Linked DNA regions of Homo sapiens: region 2 is linked to region 1. The links are contacts of gene promoters, found by promoter capture Hi-C in blood cells and fetal thymus (Javierre and others, 2016). All regions are on one chromosome and are shown on one strand. Each heading gives the region's core, a stretch centred on a gene start or on the middle of the fragment in contact. The rest is flanking DNA. Distances are from core to core; before and after follow the strand shown.

What was found. Contacts are between HindIII fragments. The CHiCAGO score rates a contact against its expected background, and 5 or more counts as called.
Region 2: the fragment with the promoter of AKAP9 here is called in contact with a fragment that was not itself captured in region 1 in 1 of 17 cell types (total CD8 T cells); the score reaches 5.7 in total CD8 T cells.

Annotation. Positions count from the first base shown.
Region 1 is chr7:93,226,227-93,232,627 of GRCh38, reverse strand. HEPACAM2 (HEPACAM family member 2) reads left to right here and starts at 6,159. Exons shown (of 10, transcript NM_001039372.4): 1 at 6,159-6,260. The coding sequence starts at 6,182. VPS50 (VPS50 subunit of EARP/GARPII complex) reads right to left here and starts at 262. Exons shown (of 28, transcript NM_017667.4): 1 at 128-262. The coding sequence starts at 160. RefSeq lists enhancers at 42-91, 182-351, 492-561. The HindIII fragment of the contact is 1,002 bases long and covers 3,108-4,109 here.
Region 2 is chr7:91,938,419-91,944,514 of GRCh38, reverse strand. It overlaps AKAP9 (A-kinase anchoring protein 9), which reads right to left and starts at 3,653. Exons shown (of 50, transcript NM_005751.5): 1 at 3,368-3,653. The coding sequence starts at 3,415. LOC124901698 (a long non-coding RNA gene) reads left to right here and starts at 3,664. Exons shown (of 2, transcript XR_007060431.1): 1 at 3,664-3,851; 2 at 3,951-4,665. RefSeq lists enhancers at 3,363-3,512, 3,551-4,112 and a silencer at 3,713-3,822. The HindIII fragment of the contact is 23,233 bases long and covers 870-6,096 here.

The DNA.
Region 1 (6,401 bases), core at 2,359-4,858:
CAGTCCCCCTGACACCTGCCACCACCCATAACTTAGATCCCCGCCCGCCACTGGTTGGGGACAGAACATCTCGGCTCCTCTCACTTCCGAGATGAAGGAAGCCTTTGCTTCAGCCGCCGCGACTTACCTGTCGGGTCATGAGAGATTTGATTTTTTGCATATCGAAATCCTGAGGAGGGTACCCTGCCTCAAAGAGCTAACAAATCACACCGAGCCACTACACAGCTGGCCCTGACACTAGGAAGCCATAGTGGGTGGTCACGTGGAGGAGCCGACCCAGGGTATCCTGTCTTTCCCTGGGCCTGCTGGGAACTGTAGTCTTCTGGACGCCGGCGGTAGCAACGATGAACTAAAGTGGCCAACCCAGGGACTACATCTCCCAGCAAGCAAAAGAGCGGGTGCTTCAGTTAAGCCGGTAAATATTACTGCTCAGAGCGACCACTGCGATCGCCGGTCTTACAAAGGTGCTTGCACTAGGCAGTAGCTACTCTTCGGCGAGACGGAAACCTAAGTCACAGGTGACTAGGCGTTGAGCGAAAGATCAAACTCAGAGGAGACAATATATAAGCCAGATTGACGCGATGTCCCCTAGGAGTGTGAGGGAGGAAACCTCACCTGGTCTAGAGGGGCGGGGTGGGAGAACGAGAGACTGACGCGAAGGAGAAGGAACTCAAGAAAGGGCTGTCACTGAGGGGTAACCTGAGAACTCGAGACTACCCCGGGCGCGCTGGGTTTGGCCTGAGGAAAGGTGTGCTCTAGGTTGCCCAATAGGCGGCCCTCCAGGTTTAGGGCTGTTCTACCTCAGTCTTGGTATCCCCTGCAAAAGCTCTAAAATCGAAGGATTTTGACGCCCGCCTATTATTTTACCTCCGTACTCTAAAGCAGTGATGACGGGAAATACGACAATAACGAGTATACCTGTCACTTTAAAGTCCTCTTTTCAACTTTTGGCAGTTTAGTTAAATTGGGGAAAGGAACAGAAGTGTCTTTGGGGACACAATTTTAAAAGGACTTTACAATTATGAGAATATGAGAAGAAGAAGAAAAAGCAGCCCTAAAGCTAACAATGATAGCTAACACTTATCGAAAGCCGAGTACCTGTCAGGAACTGCTAATAGCTTTAAATATATGATTTCATTTATCCACACAAGAATCCTGTGGGTTCCCATTTTAAAGATGACGAAGCAGGTATGGCGAAATTAAGGAACTTGCCTAAGATTACTGCAGATGTGCAAGTAGAAACTGAAGGATTAATCGGTCATCAGATGTGTTAAGATTTTCATGTATTGTGCTGAAGAAAGTTCTAAAGCATGGCACCAATTTTTTTAAGTTTATTTTATTATAATGTTAACTTCTAAAAGTATGACACAGACCCATAATTTCAAAAATATTTCTTAGAATAAAAAAAGTTCAAGTGTGTCAACGTAATAAAAAATACTAGGTAAACAATAGTATGGGTGGTAGTCAGATATGGCAAAACTAATAAAGGTGATTTGCAAATGACTGAAGTTTGGGGGACACTAACAGAGGTTATTTCTGATTCTGAAATTCTATTTTCTCACCCCTTAGAGCCTCGTTTTATTAATTTTTACAAATGAGGTTGTAATATTTTAATATTTTATATAGGGCTTTGTAAGGATAAGTGAGATGATGTAGGTGAATGAAATGTATAAATTGTAAAGCACTATACAATTATGAGGTATTATTGGTTTTGATTCTGCCCAGTTCTCTACTCCAACAGAACCACCTTGTGCATACTTGTATCATCACTGCGTTCAGCAATTCCTTTGAAATTATATGTTTACCTATATGCTTCTCTGACTCTGTTATTTCTAACCCCTTCAAGAAATTCTGGTCACATTTAGGGCAAGTCTAGTTTAGTTTATTCTTTACCTTCTCTAATCTTAATTGTCAGACTGTTCTTTGTGTGTGAAAATCTGCAATATTTAGAAGTCCCTGAAAGCATCAAAAGAAACAAAAACTGCCAGCCATATTAGCCTATAAAATAAAACCCAAGTCAATAAACATTTCTTGATTGTTGCGCTCAAGGCAACACTAAAATAAGCACTTTGATTAATAATCTATGGTTGTGGTCACAAGGAGTTCACAACTGGGTTTAAAAGCATATCTTAGGGGTGATCTGAGTTCAGTAGATCTCAAACCTGACTGTTCAGATTCACCTGAGGTGTGTGCTGTTATTATTGTTGTTTTCTTTGGGGATGTTTGTTTGTTTAAAATCTTCAGTGATTCTTAAAGGCAGTCCAGCTCTAGCATGTCAAATCCATGCTGTAAAGATGAGAAAACGTATCTGTATAAGGGTTCGAGACCACATATTTCATGAGAGCTTGATCTAGGACTAGAACCCAGATTCAACCCCGGAATTTTCTCCCTCACATACTCAAATACACAAAGTTAAAGATGATCCCCCCAAAAAGTTTTTTTTATCTAATATGTGTATTTCTATTGGCCAAATTCAGAAAAATGAGTGTTATCCCTATCTATTCGACACTGAAAACGCAAGAAAGTATTGAAACTTTGTTTTACTCCAAAACTCTACATTTTAGTTTATTTCCTACAAACTGGAGAAATGGATAAAAATGGATACAGTCTTCTAAATGTTTTAAGGCTATAACTATAATATTGAAAGCTTGTAAAGTAAATCAGCGCTGGTGTCTAAATAAACTATATTTTCTAATTCAGCATACCTTAACACTATATGAAATAATTGAACCTTACGTTATTCATTTCTATCTGTCTACGCTCAAAAAAACAAAAAACTTGGCATCCTAACAAACACTTTTTAAAAGGTTGGACATGCTGCTATTTCCTTTCCAATTTTCAAAAAGGTATTTATTTTTAAGATTTATTCAGGACTTTCACATTTACCTGAGAGCTGTTGTTAGTGATAGTCCAGTGCAAAATAATGGAAAGTTTAGATGGTCTGCCACCAAATCCTGGGGAAGGTTGGCTGGATACCAATTCCTTGGTAAAGGAGTGCAGAGCCAAGAGTTAAGTAAATTGATCTGATTCAGAACAATAGGATTAGTAGTAAAGTAGGATAAGGGCATATTACTAATGGCCCAAAACAGGAGGAATGTCTGGAAGCTTAAATAAAAGCTGAGATCCTGGTTTGATTAGAAAGATAAAATTTCTTACCACTCCACAAATACCAAAGCAGTGGAGAGATGCAGCCCCTCCAAGATGATATGACTACACTTCTTGAGCAGGCCATAACAGAAAACAGAACACTTGCCAAAGGTAAAGTAGTGACCTAAAGAGGTGCCCAGGAAGAAGACATTACTGCTTAGTATTTAGCAGCCATATAAGATAGATCAAGGCTTCCACGAGGCAGCTTTGTAGACTTTACAGAAGTGAACACTAGCACAGGCATAGGCATATGTGATAGCCTCCTCTGGCAGCTAACTCTCCCTGTAAACTGGAGAGAATCCACTAATTACAACAATAAGAAACATTTCTTTCCCCAGTTCTTATTCCCCACTGTTCTGCATCTACATTGACCTTGGCATTTCACCACCTCTCCTTAATTGTTTCTGCCACTGCAAAACATGCGTGTGCTAGCTACTTGTGATTAAAAATGTGGATGTTTGAAATGCATGCAGCAGACATTTACTGTATGAAGTAATACCAGTCTGCAATTTAAATAAACTAGATTGTAAACTGTGTAGTGTGATTTGAGAGGTAATAAAAATCCCTGCCCCCAACAAACATACACACACATACACACACACACACACACACACACCCTCCTGCACAGGAGTATATGTGTCCATATCCCATTGTAAATGCACGTGGACACACACACGCATACTCTATCCCAGTGGCTCCTTACATTGCTTGCAGTTTAATCACCGTGGATATAGATTGTTTTAGGTTAATCAGCCTTCTCATTTTAAATGCAAATATAACTAAGATTGGTAAACAGTAACACTACAGGCCCTTTTTTCCTGACTGGAATGATAACAGCAGAACTTCCCAGTGGGTTACAGGTGTGATGTGAGATATGGATGGTAGGAAAATTCTTATAATTATAAAACCTTCAAACTATTTTTAAGAATCATGTAAAAATTAACAATTGTTGAAGTTAAGCTTGAGCACTCTTTTTCTCACTTCCTGTGTAAACATGTTGAAATCAGAAGTTACTCCAGCAGGTAAGAGTTTATATCTACAGTTTACCACTAGAGGGCGCTTTGTCATGATTATCCCAGTAGCCCTTTCCCTAGATGTGCCGTATTATATTTCAATATGTGCCATGAAATAAAAAGATTACAAGTAAGATTCATATGGCATTTATTTTTTAATGTAGCATCTACTATCACCTTATGTCATGAAACAGGGAATATTTTCAAATACAACAAAGAAAATCTCAGAATAAAAAACTCCTTTATATTGAGTATATTTAACACTAGGGAAAAACACAGTACATTGTCTTTATTTCTCTTTTTGCCAGGGACCCAACAAACTTCATTATAATCCAGCACTAGATTGAAAAACACTGAAAACAGCTAATTTGATAACGGCAATTGGAGATTAATATCAATCTAAAAGATGTTGGGGGAACCTATGTGATATCTGTAGAACTTCCATATTACTTTCCAAATTGTATTTTGTGCAATCCAATATTAAAATTTATTTGTATTTCTTACGCATCAACTGAGAATCGTAAGACGGGCCAAGGAGCACTTAGAGTTTTGTTTTCTGGAGAAACAACTTAACAAAAATACCAGTTAAGCATTATGCTACGTGCCCAACATCCATGAATGAATAAGATTATTCTCTGTATTCGAGAGCTCAGAGGGAAAATAAACATCCAATAAAATAAAGATTAAGGAGATAAGTGCTGCAATAGATGTGTGTACCAGATTTAGAGACAGTGCAGAGAAAGTTGTGGCATTGTTATTATTTTGCAGGGAGGTGGGGGAAGCATGAGGAGCTCTTGCCATTTTTCTGAAGCATGGAGGGATCTGAAAGTGACTGATCTCTGAAGAGGACTTCGTTTTCCCAATAGTCACTTACTTTCTTTGCTTATAGAAGTCCTTCTAGAAGAGTTCAGAGCCCTAATGCAAAGAGTGTTTCCAAACTTGGATTCCAAAGTTACTATCATTCCTTTTTTACTTTAATTATGCTTGAGGTATAGTCTTCCTTCCCCTCTTATCATTGAACTTCTTCAGTGGGCCTTTACTGTTAAAACTGATGCATGCAAGGAATTTTCCTTGATTTGATGATTTGATGCAGATTTGGATATATCCTTAACATTTTATATAACAAGGCTAGAACCAGAGCCTTCTTGCAAATAGGGGTTAACTAATAACTTAGTAAATTAAGCGGACATGCTTAGACTATCTGCTGCCATGACAATGGAGAGACCAGGTTGAAAACCTGTAACCTGGACACTGCAGTAGAGGTAAGATCTTTTCTAGATCATTGGTTCACTTCCTCTATGCATCAGCTGTGAAAATGTGGCCTCAGATACTATCTCCTGGCATGCACTTTTCATTATAATTATGCATGGTCCATGCCTCAGTCCCAGTTGGAAACACACCTGTGATTTGCTTTTAAAAATAAGATGAATTCAAAGATTAAATGAAATCAGTCATTGTAATAGGAAACACTGCATAGAAAAAATACGTTTTAAATATATTCTGGATCTCTCTTTTGATTCATTGGTAGAATTTTTACATGTTAGTGACTTCATGAAGATTTATAACTGTTTAGCAGATACATGAGCTACTTCAATTTTCATATAATTTTTTTTAATTTTAAAATAATAATGGCATAGTTCTGCATGATAGAAAACCAGCTTTTGTTTTTAAGGAAATCTCACAATATTCTTTCATTATGAAAACATGCCATTTTTCAGTAAAGTCACGCAAAAGGATGTTTTCCTTCATGTGATTTTTTAATAACTAAGTATAATTTATGAAATATATAGACAATTACTGGTAGTTGCTAAGAAACTCTTCTGAAAGCCATAAGCCTGTATTCTTGCTAAGCACATAACAGGTGTTCCCACTCCCTGTGTCCTTTGTATACACATTCATTCTGTATTCAAATCACAGAAGCAAGAGGCAAGATAGGGTCTGTTACCTCACTGCTAATTTCCCTAGCAAATAAACCAGCAGCTGCTGGTCCAAGTTACCACTGAGAACAGGGCACTGCATGCATGGGACAGGATGCTTTCATGGAGCCCTTCGGTGACACACTTGGGGTCTTTCAGTGCAAAATATACCTCCTTCTCTTCGGTAAGGCCCTGTGTGAATTGTGTTTTAGCTGTTTGTTAGGTTTTTTTTTTTTAATTGTGGACATAAGGTAAATATTTGCTTTAGGCTGTAGATGCATTCAGATAATTGAAGAGCAGGTCAGAACCTTTTAACAATAACACA
Region 2 (6,096 bases), core at 2,404-4,903, 1.3 Mb after region 1:
CTTGGGAGGCTGAGGCAGGAGAATCGCTTGAACCTGGGAGGTGGAGGCTGCAGTGAGCCAAGATCCTGCCACTGCACTCCAGCCTGGGAGACAGGCTGTCTCAAAAAAAAAAAAAATGGCATTTGAATATTCTTTTCTGGTCATAAAAGAGATACATTGTATCAAGAATTTGGAAAATACTAAAAGTATAAAGAAAATTAAAATTGCCTATAAGCCACCACCCAGAGATAGCCACGATTTACATCTTGGTGCTTTTTTTCAGGTGTCTTCATATTTAAATATGTACATATACCTTTTCCTGGTAACTTTTTTCTTTTTAACCTGGCATTATTTGTGGGCATTTTCCACACTCAAAAAGTCTTTGTAGAATTATTTTACATATCATAATTTATTAACCCATTATTACAGATTTGGGGTAGTATAAAACATTTTATACAGTATACTATATATTATACTGCATACATGACAAACTGTTTAAAAAGTGATCATTTATAAGGTTTAGATACAGAAAGGGAATTTTCCAATGGAACTGTTTATCAATAAATTACCCCCAAAAAGATTTGTAAGTTGTGGTTTGCAAAACTAGATTATCAAATACAATACTTAAGTCCAGTGAACAAATGAGACATTTGCAGAATGAAGTCTCAGATAAACTTTGGAAAATGATCATTTAAAGTTGTTTCTGATGCCAGCAATATGGATTTCACATTAAGAGAATTCTAGATTAATGTTATTAAATTACAACCGTGCTAGGAAAGTAACACTTATTAATGACTCATTAATCATTCTGTTCATTCATTAAGCAAATATGTATGAATAACTATTTGAAAGGCATTATATTATGGTGCATTAATATCAATAGTAAAGCTTTCTTAGTAATTCTATAAAATGACATAGTAGTATTTAAAACACTTTAACAAAACGTGGAAGAATATCCCCCAAATCCTACTGCAGCTCATCCCTCTTTGTACTTATCACCCAGAGTCTGTCTCTCCCACTAAACAGTGAGCAACTTGAGAGCAGACACTGTCACCACCTCTAGGTATAAAATAGGGATTCAATATACGTTTGCTGAATAAAATTATAATCCAGAGTTTTTCAGTTCTAATCTGAAAGCACACGTTTATACAAATGAAATAATGTACATACTATTTTTGATAATGCCCTTTTCACACTATTTTTCATATTCCTATCAGTCTTCATAATCTTAATGGCTTTAAAATATTCCATCATATTTATATAACTTAGAAAATGATTCCCTTCGTGTTGTCTTTAAAAGTTATTTCCAGGGGTTTTTTTTTGTTTGTTTGTTTTCTGAAACAGGATCTCATTCTGTTGCCCAGGCTGGAGTGCAGTAGCATGATGATAGCTCACTGCAGCCTCGAACTCCTGGGCTCAAGTGATCCTCCCACCTCAGACTCCTGAGTAGCTAGGACTACATACAGGCGCACACCACCATGCCCTGCTATTTTTTTTTTTTATTTAATTTTTTGTAGAGTCTCACTATGTTGCCCAGGTTGGTCTTGAACTCCTGGTGTCAAGCAATCCTCTCGCCCCAGGCTCCCAATGTCAGCATTTTTATATTGTATAGCTAATGTTGCAGCAAACACACCTTGCCTTACAAGTCTCATAGATTTATATCTTACTGGAAAAAGGGCTAAATTCTAAAAGAAGATAATCTTTTACAACAAAAATTCACCTTAAACAGGTTTTTACCCCATACATAGAATTCTGAAAGATAAAGAAACACACAAAGAAACTAGAATTGTATTTTGCCACATCAACTACAACTGCAAGCAATTTAAATAAATCCTCTATTATGAAATGTGTATGTCCAAAGTAAACCATGTTTTGTAGGACTGCTTCACATATATTCAGGAAAGACATTTCTGGGGGCAGGCAATAAAAATTGTGAGGTAACAGACAAGTAAGACATCTAATCAGATCTTCAATGCTTTTGGAGGGGCACACACTTCACCTCCACTACTTCCGTAGATGCATAGAGCTTGCTCAGCCCCTCAGATTGCACAAGTGTAGGCTTTGGACTTCTAAAGATACCCTGATTCCCCTTTCCCACCATTTATAGATTCGAAAGTAAAAATTTACCTGGCTATATACAAGCATTTAAACCTTGATCTTAAATAGAGGGAGCTTATAGGAAAGTCAACTATATTTTAGAAATATGAAGCTAGTTTTTATATATATATTCATTTAACAAACTTGTGTTGAGCTTCTATCACTGCATCTCTGCGGTATGGCCCTTCATTGATAATAAATCACTAACCTGGTTTCCTTTGTTTATGTGAGGAGAAGAGAAAGGAAGAGAGGAAAAACAGTTACCTGTAATACAATTTTTGTCCAAGTATGACTGCTAACAATTATCTCTAAAAATAATATAATCCATAAAAGAAGACTTCATTGAAGGGAGGAAGGGGGCTTTTGAGCCCAGACAAAATATATGCTCAAATATGTAATTTTTAAAAGAAATATGCTACGCAGCTTATATTCTGTATATGTTAAATTTCTCATGAAGCCCAATGAACGATGCCTGTGTATAATTGTGTATTGTATTGTTTGCTTTACAGGCTTTTCCATAACCGTTCACACACACACACACACACACACACACACAACCAGGATTCGCCAGAGAGATATATAACAACTAAATTATTTAAAGCAGGAATTCTATAGGTGTTGGCATATGGAACCTTTCGGTCCTCAGAAGTTCCATTCACAGACTGCATTAACATTCCATAGGACACAAAAGCGCATGCCATGACAAAGACCTTCAAGTACAAACATACAAAGACACGCTTCTAAAAACGCCCCTAAAGCCAAGTTCACAGCTGGCACTTGTGGCACACACAAGCCACTGCTGAGACAGCTGTCACAGGCCAATCACACACACCCAAGAGTGCCAGCGTGCTACCTAAGGAAGACAAGCTGATGATCAGCGCACAAATCCCCAACCCAATAAAGAAAAGCCCTAAATCCCCACCCTGGAAAGCACAATGCCTGCACCACCCAGAAAACTCCTTAAAAAAATGAAAGATCGGAGGTTTAGAAGCAACTAAACACTAGTTTACAGCAATACAGTAAAAGGGGAGTTTTATTTGGACATTCACGAGAAAGGAGCCACAATATTCAATCCTCGCGGAAGTATTATCAGCTAGCACAAGGCTTTGTCCCCCAACTGGAAAAAGGGGAAAGGAGGAGGGCGAGGAGAGATGCAGACCCTAAGACCCTGCAGCACCTCCCTCTCGGGCAGTGCACTGGGGCTGCGGCGAACTCCGCTTCCCAGGCCCCCTCCCACCCCGTGCTAGCCACCGCCTCCCACCGCAGGCCCGGTTGCCTCGGGCTCTCCTACCTTGGCTTTGCCGGCCTCCAGCTTCTTCTGTCTCTCCTCGTCCTCCATGGCCTCTGCAAGGAAGGCAGGGGAAAACAGGGGTTGAGGGGTGGTTGGGGATAGAAAGGAAAGGTCGATTTGGACGGAGGTGGGACGGCAAGCTCCACGGCCTAGAGAGCCGATTCGGTCCGGCGCTCCCCCGCCCGAAGTGGAAGCAGTCTCCGCGCTCACTGGCGGATCGTCCTCAGCCGCACGGGAAGCGCCGTCACCGCCGCCGCCGCCGCCATCTTCGTCTCCACGTAAACACACGGCGAGGCGGGAGGGGCTGGAACGTCTGTCCGCGCAGCCGCCTCGTGGGCAGGTGCTCCTGGGGTGCCGCCCCGGCCCAGCCCTCCGGGGTCAACCCTTGCCAGGCCTGGGACCTGCCTCCTACCAGCGAGGATCCCGCCGTAGAGAGCGCCCTTCCCGCACATCAACGGCTCACAGGTGGCGGCCGAGCTGAGGGGTAGGAGAGACGGAGTGTGCCAGAGGCTCCTGGCCTGACCCCCACCCTCCGTCCGAGGAATCCACTGCTATTAAAACATGAGTTTTTTTTTTCCTTCAGGTTACAAAACTAACACACCTAATGGTGAAATTGGCGAACACCTACAAGCTCCAACGGAAAAGTTCCGGTGGGGGGTGGTGGGGGGGCGGACGCCAGGTTTTCTACCTACATTAACTGCTTGACTCAAGAATTATGAGAGCAGCTAATTGCTCTTATTACTTCCTTAGCCTGAAAAGTCCCTCCCTCTTCCCTCCACTGGTTCCCACTCAATCTCCGGTTCATCCTTATAGTCCCATCGCACACGCTGCCTCCAAATGGCTTTTCTGACCTCTTGTTCCCTCCACGGCAACCGAGACACATCCAGTCAAAACTTAGTCCCCTCCCCCGACTCTTTGGGGCTTCCCTTTAACAGTAGTGTTCTGAAAGGAGCCTGAGCTTTAGAACCTCGGTTAGGGACAATGCCAGACTACACTAACTTTCTAGCGTTAATGACAAGTTACCTATCCTCCCTGAGCCTACCTGGAATTTTTGGAAGGGTTGTTAATATATGTGACTGCCCTGACATATTAAAACGTCCTGAATAATGTCAGCTTTATTTCTCCTTGGACTTCCTTTAAGTACCCTGCACCATATTTTAATAATTTGTGTGCGTCTTAGTTCAGCTCATACTCCCAGCTCCTTGATGACAGAGACTCATCATAAGTCTTGCTCATCTTGGCTTTACTAAAATGACCAGCACAGAGCTCTGCACTCAATAAACGCTTTTTGGATTGAATTGAGCAGTGTTTATAAATTTAACATTACTATCTTTCCTTGTTTCCCCGACATGTGCTCCCTCAGTCCTTTGTGTTCGTCTCCCTGCCCTCCAATGCTCACATCCATTCCTGGAGTGAACTACACATTTTAATGTCTCTGGTTGATTACTCAGATTTATCATGTTTCTCCGTTGCTTTGAGCTAGGTTGGACTGAAAAACTAGCAGTTGTGAACAAAAAATAGGCTAAAATGAGTTCAAGCGTAGAAGTGGTGTTAAGTGAAAAATTGAGGTTAAAAAACAAAAAAGGAGATAATAAAGACCTTAAGTCTACCACAAACTGAAGATGAGTTTTAAATAGCCCTCATTTAGAAATCTTAGCTTTAAAAAAGATTTTTTTCTTAAGCTCCGTAATGCATACATTCTGCCAACTTCTAACAGCCAAGTGCATATTGTCCTGTTATCTCAACCTGAATTAGGAACCAGGTAAAATTAGACATTTTATCATAGGGATGAAAGAATTGAGGCAATAAGTGATTTACTTAGTCACCCATCAAATTAAGAGTAAGGACTAGAACTAAGTGTTCTAATAGTGCAGTGATTTAAATACTGCCTGGATTGAGGGATTATGAGTGTAGATGCTGATTGCCTAGGAGGGGGAAGCCCCAGGGTATCCAAAGCTATTCCTGTTTGTTAAAGGATACTGCTTTCTCGGTGACTAAATAAGTCAGCTGTTTGTAGGTGCTGAGAATGTTCAAGAATACCTTCCAAAGCAACAAGATTATTTCAATGTTTCCTTCACTGATAGCAGCCAATCATATACATGTCTAGTTTACATAATGGGTGCTCAATCAATGTTGAAAGTTAGATTTGTGTTAACTTCTATTAGAAGAGCAAGCATTGGGCACTAGTGTTCTGACTCTTCCTTATGGCACCTATTCTGTCATAACTTGTCATACCAATCATTAATTCATGTCATGTCATTCACTTACTCAGGTGATTCTTTCAGAAGATATTTCAGCAAAGACTTGAAAGAGATGAGGAGGCTGGGCGGGGTGGTGCACGCCTGTAATCCCAGCACTTTGGGAGGCTGAGCGGGGTGGATCGCTTAAGCTCAGGAGTTCGAAACCAGCCTGGGCAACATGACGAAACCCTGTCTCTACAAAATAAATAAATAAATAAATAAAAATAAAATACTGGGTGTGGTGGCGGGAGCCTGTAGTCCTAGCTACTCCAGAGCCTGAGGCGGGAGGATCACTTGAGGCCGGGAGGCCAAAGCAGTGAGCCCAGATTGTGCCACTGCACTCTAGAGTAAGGACCTAGACAACAGGTGACACTGTCCCAAAAAACAAGCAGGTGGTGGGTGGGGGTAGAGAGCCACGGAGATAGTTGAGGGTACAGCAAATCCAAAGAAAGGCCCTCAAGCGAGACCATGATGGACCTTCTCAAGGAA